Regions from separate parts of the Homo sapiens genome. Here all the other regions are linked to region 3. Evidence: promoter capture Hi-C in 16 types of primary human blood cells and fetal thymus (Javierre and others, 2016). All regions are on one chromosome and are shown on one strand. Each heading gives the region's core, a stretch centred on a gene start or on the middle of the fragment in contact. The rest is flanking DNA. Distances are from core to core; before and after follow the strand shown. Region 1 overlaps CYLD (CYLD lysine 63 deubiquitinase). Region 2 overlaps CYLD (CYLD lysine 63 deubiquitinase). Region 3 holds the start of NKD1 (NKD inhibitor of Wnt signaling pathway 1). Region 4 overlaps NOD2 (nucleotide binding oligomerization domain containing 2). Region 5 overlaps CYLD-AS1 (CYLD antisense RNA 1). Region 6 overlaps ADCY7 (adenylate cyclase 7). Region 7 overlaps CYLD (CYLD lysine 63 deubiquitinase).

Region 1 (3,116 bases), core at 478-2,977, 250 kb before region 3:
TAAGTGTACAGAGCAAGTGACAGAAACAGGGCTAGAATGCAGGTCTCTCGTCCCTACTCTGCCACTTTTTCTGTCACAGCACACCACCTCCCAAAGCTTCCCCTAGACCTGTCACCCTTACCCTTCAGCTAAGTAGCCTTTAATAGATATTCTGTCGTTAAAACTAGGTAGGGCAGGGACACATTTCATATTCCCTCTGATACAATCCTAGGCACCTAGTAAGTGTCCGATAAATACTTCTTGGTTGGCAGTTACTCAGCAAAAGTCTAATACTTTATCCTCCACTCACATCTCAGTCTACAATCATCCAAGCAGATGCAAAATTATCTGGCCAGATAATTTTCAAGATCCAGCTATAGAGGGTAGTGAATCCTGAATCTATGAAGATGCCATGTTCAAACAAGCAGGAATTTGGGTGACAACACAGTTCTATAAGATTAATGGAATCTTAATCTTCCATACTATCTCTCCCCCTTGTTCTCAAAATCTGTGAAAAAAAATAATAAAGGAATCCTAGGGATAGGAAGAATCTGGCCATTTATCTACAGCATTTGGCAAACAGAAATTTTTAAAAATCCTAAATTATTCTAAGGAGAAAATCCTTAGCAACAGTAACAACATATTTAGTTGATTTTTGTTGCTGTTTATCCTAGTTTTCAACGTGTTTTCCTAGTCTTATAAAACATTCTTCTGTGGATGGAGTCAAACTCCTTTATAAAGCTGACAGTGAGGGATGGGACACATTTAGCCTCTCTATGTATGATAACACTGCTCTCCTTCCCCACTCTCTCCCTCTCCGCCACATACATATATACACACACACAGACACACACATATTTATTTGGAGGTGAGGAACATGACATATTTTCTACTTGTAATCATGAATCATGAATCACGAACCGTGTTATAAATAAGATAATTCAATTACATTGTCATCTTGATTGTAGATAAGGAATAAAAGATAACCAAAACCTTTAAATAGCCAACAGGAAAATATTAAAGAAAACTTAAGGCTGAAAATTAAATAACCAGCAGGCACATAAGCCCCTGTGCCATGCAGCCCAGCCCCAACTATGTGCCTCTTGACAAACCAGGCTGTGCTGAAGCACAGAACAGTAGGGGGCTACCCAGAGGGAGCCAGGACAGACAGGTGCAGGGGAAACCTTCCTGCTGCCTCATGACATGCAGAAGCAGGGAAGGACGCAGCCTCCCCAGGAACCACCAGAGCTGGCCCTGGCATCCCTTAATGAGCACTCCCTCCCCAAGTAACATTAAAAAGACGTCAAGCTCCACCTGAAGAAGACGTTGCCAGAAATCATTTATGGATGAGGCCCTCCCATTTAACAGTCTCCACACCTGACTTTTGAAACCAGGTGTCCATCCAAACAGGTCTTCTTCAAGTTCTCTACCATGACAGCCTGGGTAGCAGAGCTTCCTCAATTTGTATTTTGTTTTAATTTCTACAGGAAAGGAACTGTCTTCTCTCTCCTTTTTTTTTTTTTTTTCCAACTGTTAAATCCAGTCTTACCTAGATCGTCAGCCCTTAGTATCTGCAGGGGTTTGGTTCCAGGATCCCTGCAGATACCAACATCTGAAGATGCTCAATTCCCTGATACAAAATGGTACAGAATTTGCATATAACTGACACACATCCTCCTGTATATTTTAATTAAATAATCTCTAGATTACTTATAATACCTAATAAATGTAAATGCTACATAAAGAGTTCTTGTATTGTTCAGAGAATAATGACAAGAAAAAAGTCTGTACATGTTCAATACGGATGTAACCATCCTTTTTTTAAAAAAAATCGTATTTTCCATTTGCAGTTGGTTGAATCCATGGATGAGAAACCTGCAGATACCGAGGGCTGGCTTCATTTAGATTCCTAATCATTCCTCCAGGTAGTCAATTTTTTAAAATCACATTGACAAGCTCATTCACCCATTTCTTCATTCAACACATATTTATTACAGGGTGATTGGACTTCTAGGCTGTCAGAGCTAGAAAAGGCCTTATGCATCTTTTACCCCACACCCTTCATTTTACCCAAGGGAGATGGAGGCAGGGCTAGCCCTAAACCCAGAGTCTCTCAGCCTCACCCCTGATCTAATCATCATCTCACCACCCCAACCAAGCACTTAGCAGTATAAAACCTTGTGCAAAATATATGTACTTTTTCACTTCAAAAATGAAAATATTACAAGATGAGTTTTTGTACCTTACTGTAATTTATAAAGCTAGTAAATATTAGCAAAATGGAATGATAAAACCAAAGAGTAAAAGTGCCTTTAAAAAAGTAATTGCAGGGTTTGTAAAGATTCTTTCCACTTTTTGTCACATTAAATATTTTATAAAGTCATATGACATATACATATGATGACTTTTCTGCCTTTCTGCACAGTTAGAAAGTCATTCAGGAAAGACAATGATACCACAAAACAACACTCAGAGAATGCACATTCCACAGCACTGACATGTATCATCTATGGTCCTGGTCTACAACATCCGCTGTGGTCTAAACACACACTATGGCTGTTATTAAACAAAACATCCCATTTCTACTTACTTTAATCAGAAGGAGGATGAAGCTGCTGCTAACATTTCGATAACATATCTGATTCTATCAAGTGAAACTACACTGAATTTAATGGGAGTACTGGCTGACAGATCAAACTTAAGTTCTAGACAGTCTTGTCTAAAATAATAGAGGTTTAAATATCCATCTCTCCCAGGAAATTGTAATAATTCTATATGCCAAATTCATTTTCTTATGGACTGTATGTTTGTAAAGGACTATTATCACTCCAATTCTTTCATCAATTTACTTTGCCCCATTCCATAAAATATTAATAGTTAAAAGCCTTAAAAAACCTGTTAGCTGACAGTAACTACTATGAATGAAGAGCTTCAACTGCTAAATACCCTAATCCTCCAGGAAAATCACTTCAAAAATGGACATTTGGGGACAGAATCACTCATTTATCTCAAAACCAGAACAAATAGAAAACAACACCATTAAGGGAATTTAAGTATTTTTCTGACCACTATTGCAGAAACACAGAAAAACTGAGCAGATTGTAGACATGCAAGATCAGCAGTATATAGAAAGGATT
Region 2 (2,985 bases), core at 159-2,658, 230 kb before region 3:
CTTCCATTACAGACTGGGCTGACAGAGAAAGTGGACTGTGGCCAATACTTCCATTGGTATTGGGCATCTTGGTGAGACTGAATGGTAAAGAGTGGAATCTGTTCTCGGTGGTCAGTGAGTTCACAGGAGGAGGCTGGAGTGGTGGTGAAGAACGGTCAAAGTCTGTAGATATCTCTGTAAGAGATTTTGCAGGGTCTTCTGCAACTAAAAAATTATTCCTAATTACAGAAATGTATTCAAGGATATTGACTCTGTCTTACATTTCTAAAAATTTATATACAGATCTAGTCCAACTGCCCACCTGACCTCCCTGCTATTAATAGTACTCTCATAGGCATCACAAAGTTATTATCTCCAACAGTGTTCTCGCTCCTCTCTCCACCTCCATATTTATGCACCTCAGTCAATGGCACCCAACTGTTCAAACCAAAAAAATCTATTATCAGCGGGTATCGTATACGTGATAGTCTTTGTCCAAAATACAATTAATTGAGAAGGCAGTACAAAAAGATACCGAAAACCTTAAGAAACGCTTCTATATATCTAATGGATCAAAAAAGAAATAATACGTTTTAACAATAAAGAAAAAAGAGAGAAAAAGTAACAAAGAAAGAAAGAATCCTTGTGAAACATGGCTAAATTAATACTTATAAGGGAATTTTATAGACTTCATTGCTTATTTCAGAAAAAAACAAAAGCTAAATATGAACTCAGCATACAACTTGGGAAGTTAAAAGAACAGAATAACCCTCAAAAAAGTAGAGAAGAATAAACTAAAGAACAGAAACAACAGAAGAGAGAAAACAAACATACAATAAGAAGTTCAAAGCCAGAATAAACACAAACACAGAATGTAATTTAAGAGAAACCAAACACATGATAAAGAGAGCCACAGCCAAAAGCTATTTTCTTAAAATGACTAATACAGCTGACAGGCAGGTATTGCAGATCAATGACAAAAGAATGAACTTCTTACTAAATGCTGTTGAGATAATTGGTTATCCATATTTTTAAAAAAAAATTAAACAGGAATCCTACTCATACTTTACATGAAAATCAGCTCCAGGTGCCTTAAAAACAAATGTGGCAGGCAAAACTCTAAAGGCTGGGAGACCACAGAGTCAGGCCTGTTTGCCTTTCCATTCTCATCTCATGAATGTCATGCCTCTGTCTGTGTTCTAGTCCCTGGCAAACACTAGCTTCCATTCTTCCAGGAGGACTTTCCCTATGCTATTTCTTCTCCCGAGGAAGTTCTAGCCCCTTTCACTTTGTCATCTGTCACTCCTCTGGTAAACCTAAGCATGTGTCACTGCCCCAAAGAAACACCCCTAAGACCCTGAGAAAAATCATCTTTGGTGTATTCTCACAGCATCATGCACCTTCACTGCACACACCACCAAGGCAACTCTACTGTGTCTGTGGTTGTTTGACTAATTTCTATCTCAACAACTTAACAACTGCAAACTCACAAAGGGCATGAACCATGTCTATTTTTTCTCACCATTTTCATCTTGATGCCTAAAAGAATGCCTGGCAATCATAAGCACTCAATAAATATTTGTTGAACAAATGAACAAAGAAGAGAATAAACTAGGTGAAAATGATGTCCCAGGACCAAGGGAAGATAAAATTTTTTAAAAGGGAGTGCTTTAAAGAGGTCAGGAAGGAACCAGACAGAAATCTTCCACCCTAAATAGATCAGCAGTTAAAGGAAAAGAACAAATTACTAATACATTTCTTAAACATTTTAATAATCTTAACAGCAGTACGGTTCAAACTGTGTACAATATTTTAGTTCAGCAATATTACAAAGAGCGGTCTACTTATTCTGTTTCCAAAAACTACAAATATTGATATAAAAAACCATTTTTCTCTGATGAGTTAGAAAGAAAGGATCATTATAAAGAACACTAAAATTACTGATTACCTTCATCAATGTACCATGTATTTTTTGATTTGGATTGTGGTTGTGAGTCAACAGAAGACCCATTTAAGGTATAAAATAATTCAGATCTGTTTCTATTTCCAGGGTCTGAGGTAGATCCTATAGGAACAAGAAAAGTTTCATTTAAAAATAAAGTCAATATAGCATCAAAGTTTTTTTTTAGTAAGAGAAATTATTATGAATATGATGTTAATAACTGTTTACATAACCAATAAATGTATATAAACACAATATGTTTTTTAACTGTCTTCAGCTTTTAAAAATTTGGTAACCATTTTGACAATATTAAAAATATTTTTCAGCCCAAAAGTCAAGATAGGAGGGAAACAGGAGTAAGTTAAAAGAAAAGCCCACTCATTTTTAAAAAAAATGAACTGCTTTAAGAAATTGTTCCATGTACCACAGCTTATTTCTAAATGTCAAAATCACCATTCTCCAGCTTCATTTCATAGACCCATTGGTTCACAAATTTAACCTATTATTTTAAAAGAAGGTAATCCTCAAATTCTATATATAAATCAATACACAAATTACATTTAAAAATAGTTAAGTTTTAAACATTTTGGAATTTTTGGTCATCAAATTCCTTGTGTCTTTGAAAAAATCAAGCACTATTATTTCTTACAGATTGGATTTATTATACGTGAGAGGGCGAGTGTAGCTATGCCACAGCCATTTCATGACATTACCCTGCCTCAGTATTAATTCAAGGACATACCACACACAGTGGAGGGCAGTGGGCTCTCCAGAACCCACAAAAAAGCTGATTTCCCTTTTCAAATTAAAGCAGGTAGCTGTACATTTTATAACTTTAAGATCTACTACAATACAATTAACATGCCATAGCTTAAGAAAATCTTTAGTCTGTTTCTATTTAAGTGAGAGTAGCAAGTTTGAGCTATCCTATATAGATCTATAGGTTAACATAAAAAAGACTGTTACCTATATATCCTGCAATTAATCCTAAGTCTCCCAGGCCCCAATGTCACATAAAATAATTCTTAAAGTACAATTTCCTTTTAAATGAGCCAAAATTGTAA
Region 3 (3,099 bases), core at 282-2,781:
CTAATACCCCCTTCTCTCTAGCCCCTACTCCACCTCCACCTTTGAATGCTGGTGGCAGAAACAAGGTAGAAGTCAGAGCAGGCCCCCAAATCCCGCCGGTACAGACACGATTCCCCATCAACTGGACCTTCACCACCTCCCCACCTAGGACCTTTCCCCCAGGCAGCCCTCTGCCTCCAGCTGGGCACTTCGAGGTTCTCCAAGGCATGCGGGCAGAGGGTCGCGTTGGTGGGGCAGGGGGCAGCTGAGAAGAGATTTTCAGACCCAGAAGCTGTGCAGGAAAGTGCTCAAAGTTGGGGTGCATGGGTTTGGGGACCCATCTCTGAGGCTGAAAGGAGGCCAGGAGGTGGGGCAGGGGTGGGGAATCATACCCGGGTGCTTCGGCCTATGGTGCCCGCCAACCGCAGCTGTCGGGGTCCCGAGACACCGCCCGGGCAGCGCTGTCTCCCGATCCACTCCTCGATGCCCTTCCGAGCCCAGGCAGCGCTCACGGCGAAGCTGTCACCTGGGACGGGGACGACATGAAGCCCCTGAGTCTGGCTCCAGGTGCCAAAAGTTACCCCCGCGGAGGGAAGAAGGAGGCGCGGTGGGAGGCGAAGGACCACGGCACGGGGGCCAGGAGGGGGTTCGCGGGCTGGGGCAGGAGCCAAGAGAGGGACGCGGGTAAGTAAAGGGGGGTTCAGCGAAGCCCTAGGAGCGAGGAGCCAGAAGGGGGCAAGAGGGGTGAGCAGTACCCCAGGAGGACGGGTTTAGGATCAGACCAGGGAGCACTGGCAGCCAGGACTGCGGAGGAGAGGGCTGGGGGTCAGGAGAGGGGCCGCAGTAGGTGCAGGAGCCAGGATATCGGAAGAAGGGCCGGGGGGCAGGAAGAGGGGGCAGGGTCTTGCGGGGAGGCGCTTGGGGGTCTGAAGAGAGGGTGCCGTGAGAGCCGAGGGCAGGGACGCGGGAGGGGGAGGGGTTGAGGGTCAGCGGTGGGAGCGCAGGACCGCGGGGAGCGGGTAGGAGGGACAGAGGAGGGGGCGCGAAGGCTGCTCAGGGAGCGGGCTTGGGGGGCCGGTGGCCGGAACTGGGGCTTCGGGGTGGCCCTGGTCATAAGACCTGGCGGGCTGGGCCGTTCTGCCGCGGCCGCGGTGTCCCCCGCGTCCATCCCCGAGGTCTGCGCCCCGCGCGCCCCTACCTTCCGGGCTCTCCCTGCGCTTGCACACGGCGGCTGCAGGCACATCGCGAGGCGGCGGCGGCGGCGGCAGCCGCGGCGGCGGGAGAAGGAAAGAAAGGAAGGGAGAGAGTTAGCGACCGCGGCGGCGACGGCGGCGGGGCCCGGGGCGAGCGCGCGGGCGGGGGCACTGACCCGGCTTGGAGTGAAGTTTCCCCATGCTGGGGCTGCGGCGGCCGGGAGCGTCCCTAAGCCATGCGCCCGGCCCGCGGGCCTGGCGCCTCCCTTGGCTCTCCTCCTCCCGAAGCAGCCCCCGAGCCGAGCGGAGCCCGAGGCGGCGCCGGGACGCGCTCCTGCCGCCGTCGCCGCGGCCCGACTGACGCCCGGGAGCGCCGAGCCCCCAGCCCGCCGCCGCGGCCCGCGCCTCCCCGCGCGCCCATTGGCCGGTGCGGCGCATCAAAGGCAAGGCTGGTTGCGGCGGGGGCGGGGCCGGAGGCGGGGCAGGGCGGGGACGAGGGCGGGGCGCTGACGGGAGGGGCGGGACACAGTCCGCGCTCCCTGCCGCGGTCTGGGGCCGGGGGCCGAGCTCCAGGGCTGGCGACCCGGCGGGGCGGCTTGTCCAGGAGGCGTATTGGGACAGAACAGCCCGGCCATCGCTAACTGTACTGTCACTTCCCTCCGCTCCACGTTCTCTCTAAACGGGCAGGGCGGGACTCGGCGGCTCCAATTTACAGGTGGGGAAACTGAGGTCGGGAGCGGAGACCTTAGCTGCTCAGGTGCAAGCTTCGGCAGCGCTGCCTTTTCCCAGTCTTCCCACGACCTACCTTCTGCAGAAAGTGTTCATTACCCGCCCCGTGACCCGCCCCCCACCACCGCACTCCTCTAGTTTCTTATTTGGGGAGTCCAGGAGGAGCCCCCAGCGCACCCCGGGCCAGTGTGAGCCCAGCCCTCTCCAGGCAGCGACAAATGTCCAAAGCGCCCCGTTATCAGCCAGTCTCTGGGATCTCCTCGTCCGGGGGCCCGTGGGTGCCCGCCCGGGTCGGGGCGCGCTGCCAAACTGCGCGGCCCGGAAGGGGGTAACCGCTGAGTCTTTGATCTTCCTTGGTTTCCGCTCCCCGCTGCAGTTCGCCAGACCCAAGGGTTTGTTTGTTTTGTCTGGGGAGGTCTCTGCGGGGAGGTCGCGCGGGGGGAGGGGGATGGTGGCGGTCGACATCAAGGGATTCCACCCCACCTTTGTGGCTCTCAGAACGCCTGCCCCCTTCTGGGGACACTGTGGGTCCGTGTTACGCTCGTCCTGGCACCAGGCAGCTCTGGCGTGGGAAAAGAAAACCCGCAGCTCAGAGTGAGACCAGCCCCGACCTTTGGAGTGAATTACCTGTGCTCAGTTTTGTGATCTGTATAATGGAGGCTCCATTCTGCCCTTTTTGCCGACTCTCTAGAGCAGCACTGCCCAATAGAAATATAATGTGGGCCACATTTGTAATTTTAAATTTTCTTGTCGCCACATCTTTTAGAAGTAAAAAGAAATAGATGAAATATTAATAATATATTTCGCTTAACTCAATACAGTCAGCCCTCCTTATTCACAGGTTCCACATCTGTGGCATCAACCATCTGTGGACTGAAAATATGCAAAAAGAATAATACAGCAAAAATAAAGAATAAAAAACTTTTTAATATAGTATAACAACTATTTACATAACATTTACATTGTATTAGGAATTACAAGGAATCTAGAGATGATTTAAAGTATTCAGAAGGATGTGTGTAGGTTATATGCAAATACTACAGGACATTTTATATAGCGGACTTGACATCTGGGGATTTGGGTATCCTCTAGGATCCTGGAACCAGTCCCCAAAGACACCAAGGGAACACCATATATCCAAAATAGTATAATTTCAAGATATAATGAGATATTTTACATTCTTTGTATTGCGCTAAGT
Region 4 (3,053 bases), core at 351-2,850, 170 kb before region 3:
ATTTCATCAGTCTGGGGTGGGAGGCCTGGCAATAGTGTTTAGAAGCTTCCAGGTGGTTTTAATATGCAGCTAAAGTACAGCCCTAGCGCCCCCTGAGGATCAGAGGGCTTCCTGTCACCAGCTCGTGGGCACTGTCCTCCCCTAGCCCCAACATCCCAAACTTCCTGTTTGTCAGGCATAGACCAAGTATGAAGGTGGCAGTCAAGGGCCGCCCACTCTCTCCCTGGCTTGTCCTCCCCACTGGAGCTGGGCTGCCTCTGGGGCCTCCTGGCTGAAGAGTTTCACCTGCCCCTAAATCCTCAAAAGTCCCAAGCCCCTCCATGCAGGTCCCTCTTCCTGGAATCCAACCTACCCCAGGAACTGCAAGGAGGTGTTGCCTCGGAGCCCCTCGGCCAGCACTTGGGCTCCCGCGGCAGTGATGTAGTTATTCCCCAGCCTGGAAGGGAAGACAGAGGAGGCTGAGAGAACACAGCGGCAGGCAGAAAAGGAGGGCCGTCTGTGCCCTGGCCAGGGAAACACAGGAAGAAAGCATTGAAGACCTGCCCGGGAGGCAGCAGCCACATCAGGTGCCCTCGCTGCTAGGTCTAGTTTACTCAGCGGCTCCCACAACTTCATTTTCCCCCAGCAAAGGGAAAGGGGCAGCGGGACGCTGTTTGCACAGCAGTGTGACAATTCCAGGCAGGAGCCACAGTAGGCAGCTGTCCTGGGAGGTGGTTTCCCCGGGACAGCGAGGGTGACTCAGGGTCACACCTTTCCCTCTGGTCTCAGCCGCCCTCGATCCAGACCCCATCGTGCCCTCTGCAGCCTTCCCAGATCTGTTGTTGCTACAGGTAGGCTTTACCTGTTGCACAAGAGCGCTGGGCAGGTCCAGGTGGCTGGAGGGAGGGGTGGGGCCCACTGAGCCTTCCAGAAAGGAAGGAGAGAGGGAGGGCCAAGGCTAGGGGTGGGGGAAGATCCCAGCAAGGAAGGCTCCTGCTGCAACTGAATCCAGACACCTCGGAGAGCTTCGGAGAAGCCCCAGAGCTCTCACCTGCAACCCTAGGCTTCCTGGGATAACTATACGCTTTCATTCTTTCAAGGAACGTCAAGCCACTCAGCTCACAACAATCCTATAAGGCAGATATTATTGTATCCTTGGAGAAGGGGTGTGGCAGCTAGGAGAACTCGCCTTTCAGGTCTCCAGCCTCAGCTCCTTGGAGGTAGCCAAGGGCCCCAGCTGCTGTGCTCCAAAATCTAACATCCTCGCATCTGCACTTGCCAGCCCCTGCCTGAGACATCAGGCTCCCCTGCCTGGTGAATTTGGTTCAAGAACTCCTCATCAGCCTTGCCAAGATGTCTTAGGACTGCACTGAAGTCCAAGGTGCCCAGTCTCAACCTTCCTTCCTTCCCTCTCTCCTTCACTCAGGGACACACCTCCCAGCCTCCCCCAGCTCCCTTCCCCACTTCCCCTTTTAGGACTTTTCCCCAATAAATGGGTGGCACATTGAATCCCTGCTTGGAGGACCGGACTCACATAAGGAGAAACAAGCTGAGTGCTTGTGTGATTTACCCATCATCTTTCAGCCACTCGCTTACTATATAAAGCCCCTGCCAGACGGTGCAGCCCTTCATGTGGATTAACTTGCTTGCTCATCACTACAGCCTGTGAGGTAGCCAGGGTTATTACCTCCATTCTACAGAAGGGGAAACGGAGGCACACAGACATTGGGCTGACCTGAGGTCACGCAGCTAATGAGGGTTCAAACCTCGGGCAGTCTGGCTCCAGAGCCTGTGCTCTCTATTACAATGATATACGGTAATCCCTGCCCCCTGCTTATCCGCAGCTTCGCCTTCTATGGTTTCAGTTATCTGAAATCAACTGCAGTCCAAAAATATTAAATGGAAAATTCTAGAGATAAACAATTCATACATTTTAAATTGCATGCTATTCTGATCACGTGCCATCCAGCTCCATCCCACCCAGGACGTGAATCAGCCCCCCGTCCAGCGCATCCACGCTCTATACGCTCCCATTTGGTAATCATCAAGATCGTCTGCTCCTGACATCCAGCTGCCGACCTCATTGTTGCTCAAAGATTAGGGATCTCTGGGAGCAGATGATTCTCCTCCTGAAGTGTGGTCAGGTCAACAGCAGCCCAGCGCTAGAGCACAGTGCTGCATGCGTCATCCACCTCACTTCCTCCCATCACACAGGCATTTTACCACCACACATCTTCCCAAGAAGAAGGGTGAGTACAGTACAAGAAGATATTTTGAGGGAGATGGAGAGAGTCCACATTCACATAGTGTTATTATAGTACATTGATTGTTATAATTGTTCTATTTTATTATGAGTTGCTATTACTCTCTTACTGTGCCTAATTTATAAACTACACTTTATTGCAGGTGTGTAGGTATTGGGAAAAGCATGGTATGTGTAGGGCTTGATACTCTCCATGGTTTCAGGCATCCACTGGGGTCTTAGAACATCTCTCCTGCACATACCGGAGGACTACTGTGTTGGCCACAAACTCAGCCTCCATTTCTGAAACTAGCACCCTTCTCAGGGATGGGCCAGCCAGGTCTGGCCACAGCCTATTCCAGGCTTGTGAGTCTGAGGGATCAGGCAGTGGTAGCAGGACTGAGTCCTTTGTACAAATTGGCACCTGTGGTTCTGATCTCAGTAGCCCTTGCCGAGACTGAGCTATGTGGCCCGCCATTTTAAAATGGCGGCTCCCATCCACAAACCCAGCCCAAGAGGTAAAAGAATAGATGGAAGCAATTCTTTACTTTGTCTTTTTTTACTGCCTCACAAATCACAGGAGGCAAGAATATCTGAGAGAGAGAGAAGGAGAGAGAAGCCAGGCCAACCCAGCGGCCAGCTAGAGGGGCAATTTAAAGGCATCAGGTAGGAGAGAGAGAGACTCCTGTTGAAACTGGGAGACACTGGAGTAGCAGAAATGCAGAACCAGATGGACTGCAAACCTTGCATGCTCTGAGTGGTGAAAGGACCTCCTGGGAGTGTTGCAGCAACTCGCTGCCACAGCTGGGGTGGCAAGTAACTGTGTATGCCT
Region 5 (2,919 bases), core at 397-2,896, 190 kb before region 3:
GAGAGAGATTTGGGGTCCTTTTAGGCAAGGCAAACATTCTCATGTTACCACTGGGACCACTTCTCTTATCTGCACGATCTACATCCACTGGTCCCTTAAGGCATCTGAGTTTGCCACTCTGGACTAGAATATTTTCATGTCCCTTCTTTTTGTTTTTGTTGTTGTTGTTGCTGGGGTGTTTGTTTGTTTGTTTCTTTGTTTTGAGACAGAGTCTTGCTCTGTTGCCTAGGCTGGAGTGCAATGGTGCGATCTCAGCTCACTGCAACCTCCGCCTCCCAGGTTCAAGCAATTCTCCTGCCTCAGCCTCCCAAGTAGCTGGGATTACAGGTGCCTGCCACCACACCCAGCTAATTTTTGTATTTTTAGTAGAGACAAGGTTTCACCATATTGACCAGGCTGGTCTCAAACTCCTGACCTCAAGTGATCTGCCTGCGTCAGCCTCCCAAAGTGCTGGGATTACAGGCATGAGCCAATGTGCCCGGCCTATTTTTGTGTCCTTTCTGTTGATGGTGTTTGGTGCTGCTGAGGTCTCTACTTCCATAGGGCTTTCGTCCCCAGGCTCTGTCCTGTCATACGTTCACTGAATCAGTGCCGGGGCCTGACTTCATCTAAGGGATCTTCATCCAAGTCAAGCCTGACAAATGGGGCTTATCTCAATTATCATTTCCTATCAATTGGGAATGGCTGCTTAGAACATTGCGTTAAAGCTAATTCTGAACTTATATTCAGGCTCACCGGGAAGAGAGATATCTGCCAGGGGATAAGATGGGGAGATAGTGTCATGGTGCTATTATTTGCAGTCCTTGGTGAACCAGCCTCTCATTTTACAGGTAGTAGATGAAGGCCCAAAGACAGTAAATTACAAGCCCCTGTCACTCAGGAGATGGGCCGAGACCCTGATTCCAAGCCAAGACTCTTTCCACCTCTGTTAAAATGGATTCCCCAACTGAAATGCTCATCATCTCTGCCTTCCAAATCCTCCCTTCATGGAGGACCTAGTCAAAGTCCTTTACAGACATGTCTTCACAGAGGGCTCCAGCCCTCACTAATGACCTCTCTCAATCCACCACCCCACAGCCTCTTCCATCCAGCCTGGTCCTGGGTTCATGGAACTAGCGGTTGTGTTACTGAGCAGGTTCCAGGAAACATAGCAGTGTACAAGAGAGATGCCACACTCCCTCTGGCAAAAAAAAAAAAAAAAAAAAAGGCAAACTAAAATACTCATTAGATGATCACTTACTTAATTATGGCTGTGGTAAGCCTCAGAAGAAGAATCTCTCTGAGCATGCCTAAAGGGAGGTTGGCCACTCAGGGAAGGCCTGTTTGAGGAAGTCACCTTTGAGATGAGATGGGAAAGATAACTGGCAGGCAGGAGTGAGGGGGAACACTCCAGAAATAGGAAACAGGAAAGTGCATGACCTGTTGAAGAAACTGGAAGAGGCAGAGCGCAGACAATGAAGGCACAAAAGAGCCTTGGGAGCCAAGGACAGGGGTTGTTCTCCATCCCAAGAGCAATGGGAAGTTGTGAAGGGTTTTGCAGGGAACATAACACTGGTTCTTTTTTTGTTTTTTGTTTTTTGTTTGAGATGGGGTCTCACTCTGTTGCCTAGGCTGGAGTACAGTGGCACAATCATAGCTCACTGCAGCCCCCGTCTCCTGGGCTCAAGTGATCCTCCCACCTCAGTCTCCTGAGCAGCTGAGACTACAGGTACGCACCACCATGCCCAGCTAACTTTTCTCTTTTGAGTAGAGATGAGGGTCTCACCATGTTGCCCAGGCTGGTCTTGAACTCCTGGCTTCAAGTGATCCTCCTGCTTTTGCCTCCCAAAGTGCTGGGATTACAGGCATGAGCCACTGTGCCTGACCTAACACTGATTCTAAGCTGTCTTATGTAGTTCTCTCATTGCACACAGCGGGACCCTAACATAAAGCTATTGAATTGAATGGAGCTTTCCCCACGGAGGACGGTGAACTCCAGGTAGCCTGCTAGGGGCATGGGACATAGAGTAACACACCGTCAGGACTCAAGGGAACCTGCTCAGTGGCACCGGTCATGATTATTGACTAGACCCTGCTCCATGCTTCCCAGTGCCTACCACGGGGTACCTCCTACTTGCAGTCTCTCCAAATTTGGTGTCTCTTTTATATCCTACTGCCTTCTCAGCATCTCCACTCAACACAGCCAAAAGCGAACTCCTGATATTCACCACCACCACCCCCTGCAATCCCTCTGCACTCCCCATCTTAGTAAATGGCAACTCCCAGATGTCCATCCAACCTCCCATGGTTCCAGCCATTTTCCCACTAATCCTGTGAATATGGGCATTCAGAATGAACACCAGGCCAAGTGGCTAACTGGACCAGGTATCCGCACAAGCAAGGATACGTCACAGGCGCTTTCTCCACAGTAGCCCAGCACAGTGTTTTGATCCATGGATAACGGGCTGAGGTCTTCCATCTCTGAGATGTGCTTATCTCTTAGGGAAGGGAAATTCCAAGTGCAACTGAACATTCTGTCTGAGGACTTTTACTCTGACCACCTAAAAGCTCTTTTTGATAAGATAAAGGGGATTACTTTAATCATCTTTAAACTAATCCAGCCGAACTATAAATCCATGCTCTCCCATTTGAGCTATTTGCTGGTATCAATGACAAATAATTTCTATGTTTGATTTTTAAAACACACACAGAAAGCTCTTTATTAAAGGGAACTTTCTGCTACATCTGGATCCCATTTTGGGCAGTTGATGCATTAGGGATTGTTCCATGTCCCAGGGAATCTTCCTCCTTTACCAAGGAGACACAAATGATGTCAGAAAAAGGGTGACTCATTCTTATAAGCTGCCCCAACTTCTATTTTCTGCCCCCTTTAATAAAGAAAGTGGATCCTTCCTTCATTCAACAAATATGTATTGAGCA
Region 6 (2,950 bases), core at 192-2,691, 230 kb after region 3:
GTGAATCCCAGGGACAGTTTTTTTGTTTTGTTTTCTTTGCATGTGTACATTTACTGTTCTTTGGGATGCCTCTATCTAAAGGAACCATGCTTTAGTATCTGGAACTTTGTTTTTCTTTTTAGCTGAACAAGTGACCAATAATCTTAAAGAACTTGCACAGCAAGTAACTCCAGGTGATATCGTAAGCACGTATGGAGTTCGAAAAGCAATGGGGATTTCCATTCCTTCCCCCGTCATGGAAAACAACTTTGTGGATTTGACAGAAGGTACGTGCCCTGTTTTCTCTGGGAAAGCAGAAAGCTATGGTGACTATAGTCATCCCTCAGTGTCTGCCCGAGATTGGTATCAGGACCTCGGATTTGGTATTTACCCCACAAAGATAGCAAAATCTGTAGATGCTCAAGTCCCTAACATAAAAGGTATTTGCCTATACCCTACACACAACCTCCAGTATACTTCAAATCATCTCTACTTATATACTTCATAGAATGTAGTTAATAGACTGTATTTTTTATATTTTTTTCATTGTTTGTTGTATTTTTTTAATTGGGTTTTTTCCCCAAATATTTTTAATTGGCAGTTGGTTGAATCTGCAGATGTGGAACCCATGGATAAGAAGGGTCAACTGTAAAAGGAACATTTATCTGTTTTTAATGTATAAACTACTCTTAGTTTTCTTTTTATCTTGTCTAAAGAATTAATAAAGATTTCCTGTGTGCAGAAGAGCCACAATGATCACCTGATAATGCGCGTAGTCTTCAGCCTTGGATGTGGTGAAGAAGGGCTCTCAGCAGTTATGCTTCTGGATGGCAGCTTGACTTTCATGTCCCCTTTTTAATTAAAAGGTAAAAACAATGTTGAATTAAGTGATGTCTTTTTCTTTCAGACACTGAAGAACCTAAAAAGACGGATGTTGCTGAGTGTGGACCTGGTGGAAGTTGAGGCTGCCTGGTATTTGATTATATATTATGTACATACTTTTTCATTCTTAACTTAGAAATGCTTTTCAGAAGATATTAAATATTTGTAAATTGTGTTTTTAATTAAACTTTGGAACAGCGAATTTGGATGTTCCAGAGGTTGGACTTGTATTAGGTAATAAAGCTGGACCTGGGACTCGTGAGGAAGGAATGTGCTTGGGGCTGTTGCCATACCTGTGCAGCATTCTTTCAAAATAGTGCCTTCCAATGCTTCTTCCTTATGTCCCACAGACAGGATCATCACTAAGAAGCGTTCTTAAAACGGCCCCATCCAGTGAGATTTTCCGTTATACGAACATACTTGAAATAATTTTAGAATTTACTACTGTGGTTCTGCCCCTGCATACCCAGTGGGAATGATGCCCTTGTATGGGTAATTAGGCACCTCCCACCCACCCCTGACAAAAGCACACTGGGAGTTTTATAGCACTGTCACATGGCTAGTGTTCTTTTTTGGTTTTTTCCGTTTTTTAAAGAAAGAGGAGTTACTTAGTACTATAGCAAAGTAATAAGCCAAATAAGATAAACTAAGTCATCCTTGAATAGATCAGGGAATTACCAGATTACCAAAAGGTGACATTTCTACTTTACTTACTGTTTATCTGAAATACAAAGGTCAAGTACCCAAGGAGTTGAACTCTAAGTAGGAGACCACAAGATTCATGGCCCCCTTTTATCAGCAAGCTGAGATAAATGGTGATTTTGCTGAATCGGTATAGAACCTGTTATACACAAGGGAAAAAAATCAGGATGGAGATAGATAGATAGATAGCCTTGTTCAGTGAACAAATTAAGTTTGAAGGCCCTTATACAATCCTTCTATAAATCACCCAGGCAGGAAGCCATTTGATTTCTATTATTTTCCTGACTTTGAAAATTAATTAGTATTTAGGAAGAACAAATAGGGTAAAGGAAAATTAATTCCCTCAAAAGACTTAAAATCTTATGCTAAAAGAGTCAAATTTTCAAGTTGTTTGAGTCTACTTTTAATCTCTAGTGAGTTCATGAGGACCACGAAAATAAAATACCTTCAGATATTTGAGTTTTTCAAATTGCTAATTTAATGTATAAAAAGCAGCTAAACACTGGTACTTTATAAAAATGAAACAGCATTTTGAAACAAATGTTACAGATCTATAAATATTCATTATATAGAATAAACCCTAGTTACTTGCATGCACCACCTCAAATCATATTTCTTTACACTGACCTATTATATACACAAAGTATACAGTGGTTAATGATCTTCTCTTCTGTTTGTTTGTTTGTTTGTTTGTTAGGAAATTTCCTCAATAAGCCAGAAAACCTTAGGTATTATTTTCACAAAAGTTAACTCAGGAGAAATTGTAAGGAAGTCCTTGACCCATGGAGAAGGTCACTGTTTGTTTGTTTGTTAGATACGTGTGTCTGTCATAAAACAAAATGACACCAGTAATTACTTGGTAATTTAAAAACAAGTTCATAAAAAGAAAATACCTGCAGGTAATTTTTATGGTCAGTTATATTCTATAACCTGAACACTGAAAACTAAAAACTTTTACTTACAAACTATTATTATCTGAGCACAGCACAGTGCTTTGCTTTAATTGGAAATAAAAATGCATGAGTGAGTGGTAGTCAGTTATTTGTTAAACTCCCAACTGGGGTTTCTGTTGTTACTGAAGAAAAAAACAAATATTCCAAGAGTACAAATATGCTGACCTCAGAGAGGCCCAGTGCACTAATGTGTTTCTATGTTATATTAGCAACAGAAACCTTCCTGACTTGCCAGGAGAGCCCCCGCCGGGCAGCCCTGGTCACTGCTAGATCTTGAGAGCACAGATTTCAGTATAGTATTCATGTGAAACCAGCCCTTCATGTAAAAAGTTTTGGTGTGTAAAAAAGGCAACTTAAGCGAGGCTAATTGCCCTTACCAGCATTGTTGCCATGAAATTCCTTTATACAGCAAGTTCTTCTATTCATACTGATTC
Region 7 (3,073 bases), core at 188-2,687, 210 kb before region 3:
ATCCTGCAAGGCAAAAAGCACCAAAGTCAAAAACATCACACCAAGTGAAATGCACCAGCTCCAAAGGACATATGTATGATTCCACTAATATGAGATACCCAGAGTAAGCAAAGTCATAAGGACAGAGAGCAGAGAACAGAGATGAGCAGAGGCTGGAGGGAAAGAGGAACCGGCAGCTATCTCTTCATGAGTATAGAGTTTCTATTTGGGATAATGAACAAGATTTCTGGAAATAGATAGTGGTGATGGTTGCACAACTGTAAACATACTTACACTGAATTATACACTTAAAAATTGTTAAAATGGTACATCCTGTTAGGTATATTTTACCACAATAAAAACAAATGAGGGTGACCAGAAAAATAAGCAATTTTAAAAAAAGACAAATGACAAATGAGGGTGGAAGAGTGGGCAACATTTGCATCTCGCATCACAGAAGAGTTTGCCACCCTAACACATGAAGAAATCAGTGAGAAAAAAGGCCAATAACCTAACCCAATTTAAAAATAGGCAACAGATGCAAACAGTTCACAGAAAGAAAAATTGCCCTTAATCATATGCAAAAATGTTCAACATCACTCAGAGAAATGCAAATTTCTATTTGCAAATGTATTATATACACTGAAATATATTTTTTATCTATCAGATTGGGAAAAAAGTTAGTAACACACTCTCATGGGAAAGCTATAAGTTCCCCCTTGTATTCTACTGGCAGGAATATAAATTGTTATATCTACGACTGAAGGCAATTAACAATATCCAGAACAATACCAACGCATACGCCCTTTCATCAAGCAACTCCACTTCTGGGAATATATATATCCTCCAGATATGCTAGCACATGTGGGAAACAGACATGTACAGGTTACGGTAACATTGTGTGCAATATCAAAAAGTCAGAAACAACCCAAATGTCCATTGATAGGAAACTGGTTAAATAAATTATGAAATTTTTTTCCGTACAATGGAAAATTATACACTATAAAAAACAAGAACCTCTGTTTGCAAATATACAAAGAGTTCTAACATATAAAATTAAGAGAATAAAGCAAACAGCAGAATAGTGTATCTACTACACTTCTTGAATTAAAAGGGAAGGGGGAATAAGAATATTTATATTGTATAAAGAAACACTGGAAAGATATATAAGAAATTCATAAAAACTGTGACTAGTGAGAAACGAAGGATGGAGTAAGCAGGCAACTGAGGCAGAGGGGATAAAAATGGAAATGAGATATTTTATTGTACTTTTTAATTTTGATTTGAGATACATGAATGATTTCTTCTTAAAATTGTTTTAATAACTTGATAGAGGTTTCTAATTCAAGGGTATATATATATTAGTTAGAACCCAAATAAATCCATATGTATGTCATTATATGTGTGACTTCTATCTGAAATGAAAAAGAAAACCCTAAATACTTATCTCTAGTTAATTAGATGCACACTGAAGTATTTAGGAGGAAGTGAACTGGTATCTGCAACTTAATGTGAAATGCACAAGAAAACGTGACGGATAAGTACGTGAATAGAGAGGTGGACAGATACATATAAAGCAAGTAAGATGTTGATTGTAGGATCTAGATGATATGCATAAGGATGCTCAATATAAAATTTTCAGTTTTTCTGTTTAAAATGTCATAACAAAACATTAAAAGATGTTTTATTAAAATTCTAAAACTAGAGAACTCATGAATCAATAAATGAGCAACTCAACAGAAAAACAGGCAAAAAATACGTGTTTAATAGAAGACACAAATGTTGTATAAACATATAAAAGGCTGTTCAATCCTACTTGTAATCAGGGAACTACAAACTTTTAAACCACCTTGAGATACCATTTCTCAGCTGTCAGGCTGGCAAAAATTTTAATCAGTACCAAGTGTGGAAAAGGAGGTGGAAACAACCTAAAACCCAAGCGTCCATTAATATTACAATGGGCACCAAACTGTGGGATAGTCACATGACGAAATATACTATGAAGCAGTGAGAGTGAACAAACTACTAATGCCCTCATCCACAGAAAAGAATCTCAAAATACATTTTAAGTAAATGATGCAAGTAATTTAAAAATCAGTAAGATTTTAACTACATTAAGTTCAAAAGCAGGCTAAACAGTATATTGTTTAGCTACAGAGATATAATTAAATTATAAAAAGCAAGGAAATAATTAATGAAAAAATCAGAATAATGGTCACCTCTAGGGAGAGATTGCAATTATAATGAAAACAAGGTATTGCAGGTGGTTTTCAAGGTACTTCTAATGTTCTGTTTCTTAACCTAGATGGTCAGTTTCATGAGTGTTCATTATTATTCTTAATATATGTTGTTATATATACTTTTGCAAATACATTCTACAGTAAAAAGTTTCTTTTTTGAGATGGAGTCTCGCTCTGTCACCCAGGTTGGAGTGCAATGGCACAATCTCAGCTCACTGCAACCTCCACCTCCCAGGTTCAAGCGATTCTCCTGGCCTCAGCCTCCTGAGTAGCTGGGACTACAGGTGACCGCCACCACGCCTGGCTAATTTTTGTATTTTTAGTAGAGACGGGGGGGTTCGCCATGTTGGCCAAGCTGGTCTCGAACTCCTGACCTCACGTGATCTGCCCACTTCGGCTTCCTAAAGTGCTGAGATTACAGGAATAAGCCACTGCACCCAGCCAAAAGTTTCTTAAATATGAAAATGATGAGCACATTGCCCATTTTTAAGGATTAAACATGAATTCGTATAATATTAACATAAACATTCAAATGAAATTGTTTAATAGCTAACTCAATTTTAACATGATCAAAACCAAGATCCTGACTTCCAACTCCCACTCCCCGACGCATGCTCTTCCTGTTGTCTTTCCCACCTGGGTAAATTGCCTCTCCAGCCTACCAGTTGCTCAGTCCAAACCTTGGAATCATCCTTGATTCTGTTCTCTCTCTCAAACCTCACACCCAACCCATCTGCAAATCTTGATGGGATCTTTACATTATATCCAAATCCTTCACTTACCATCCTCTTCATACCACCCCAGTCCCAGCCACCACCGTCTCTCACGTGGATAACTACAACAGTCTCCTTCCT

Evidence for each region. The method cuts DNA at HindIII sites, captures the fragments that hold promoters and counts their contacts. A CHiCAGO score of 5 or more calls a contact.
Region 1: a fragment that was not itself captured here is called in contact with the fragment with the promoter of NKD1 in region 3 in 9 of 17 cell types (non-activated CD4 T cells, activated CD4 T cells, naive CD4 T cells and 6 more); the score reaches 15.5 in non-activated CD4 T cells.
Region 2: a fragment that was not itself captured here is called in contact with the fragment with the promoter of NKD1 in region 3 in 7 of 17 cell types (non-activated CD4 T cells, activated CD4 T cells, total CD8 T cells and 4 more); the score reaches 9.2 in non-activated CD4 T cells.
Region 4: a contact is called between a fragment that was not itself captured here and the fragment with the promoter of NKD1 in region 3, in 4 of 17 cell types (non-activated CD4 T cells, total CD4 T cells, naive CD4 T cells and 1 more). The highest score is 9.2, in non-activated CD4 T cells.
Region 5: a contact is called between a fragment that was not itself captured here and the fragment with the promoter of NKD1 in region 3, in 10 of 17 cell types (non-activated CD4 T cells, total B cells, naive CD8 T cells and 7 more). The highest score is 14.6, in non-activated CD4 T cells.
Region 6: a fragment that was not itself captured here is called in contact with the fragment with the promoter of NKD1 in region 3 in 4 of 17 cell types (non-activated CD4 T cells, naive CD4 T cells, naive CD8 T cells and 1 more); the score reaches 6.9 in non-activated CD4 T cells.
Region 7: a fragment that was not itself captured here is called in contact with the fragment with the promoter of NKD1 in region 3 in 8 of 17 cell types (non-activated CD4 T cells, naive CD8 T cells, total CD4 T cells and 5 more); the score reaches 14.3 in non-activated CD4 T cells.

What each region holds. Positions count from the first base shown.
Region 1 is chr16:50,797,004-50,800,119 of GRCh38, reverse strand. CYLD (CYLD lysine 63 deubiquitinase) reads right to left here. Exons shown (of 19, transcript NM_001378743.1): 19 at 1-3,116. The region is part of intron 2 of CYLD-AS2 (CYLD antisense RNA 2); the gene reads left to right. Among named protein-coding and RNA genes, the nearest start is that of CYLD-AS2, 4.8 kb to the left of the region's middle. The HindIII fragment of the contact is 3,258 bases long and covers 99-3,116 here.
Region 2 is chr16:50,776,884-50,779,868 of GRCh38, reverse strand. CYLD (CYLD lysine 63 deubiquitinase) reads right to left here. Exons shown (of 19, transcript NM_001378743.1): 8 at 1,928-2,044; 9 at 1-204. Among named protein-coding and RNA genes, the nearest start is that of CYLD-AS2, 25 kb to the left of the region's middle. RefSeq lists a silencer at 1,264-1,423. The HindIII fragment of the contact is 3,496 bases long and covers 1-2,985 here.
Region 3 is chr16:50,546,828-50,549,926 of GRCh38, reverse strand. It overlaps NKD1 (NKD inhibitor of Wnt signaling pathway 1), which reads right to left and starts at 1,531. Exons shown (of 10, transcript NM_033119.5): 1 at 1,349-1,531; 2 at 1,178-1,210; 3 at 372-505. The coding sequence starts at 1,373. RefSeq lists silencers at 1,209-1,398, 1,439-1,888. The HindIII fragment of the contact is 5,196 bases long and covers 1-1,938 here.
Region 4 is chr16:50,717,308-50,720,360 of GRCh38, reverse strand. It overlaps NOD2 (nucleotide binding oligomerization domain containing 2), which reads right to left. Exons shown (of 12, transcript NM_001370466.1): 7 at 353-436. Among named protein-coding and RNA genes, the nearest start is that of CYLD, 23 kb to the left of the region's middle. The HindIII fragment of the contact is 3,105 bases long and covers 48-3,053 here.
Region 5 is chr16:50,737,657-50,740,575 of GRCh38, reverse strand. All of the region lies in intron 3 of CYLD-AS1 (CYLD antisense RNA 1), which reads left to right. Among named protein-coding and RNA genes, the nearest start is that of CYLD, 3.0 kb to the left of the region's middle. The HindIII fragment of the contact is 5,372 bases long and covers 1-2,919 here.
Region 6 is chr16:50,317,203-50,320,152 of GRCh38, reverse strand. ADCY7 (adenylate cyclase 7) reads right to left here. Exons shown (of 26, transcript NM_001114.5): 26 at 2,018-2,950. It overlaps BRD7 (bromodomain containing 7), which reads left to right. Exons shown (of 17, transcript NM_013263.5): 16 at 123-266; 17 at 887-2,950. The coding sequence ends at 942. Among named protein-coding and RNA genes, the nearest start is that of MIR6771, 26 kb to the right of the region's middle. RefSeq lists an enhancer at 1-1,059. The HindIII fragment of the contact is 7,497 bases long and covers 1-2,950 here.
Region 7 is chr16:50,758,546-50,761,618 of GRCh38, reverse strand. The region is part of intron 5 of CYLD (CYLD lysine 63 deubiquitinase); the gene reads right to left. Among named protein-coding and RNA genes, the nearest start is that of CYLD-AS1, 17 kb to the right of the region's middle. The HindIII fragment of the contact is 8,236 bases long and covers 1-3,073 here.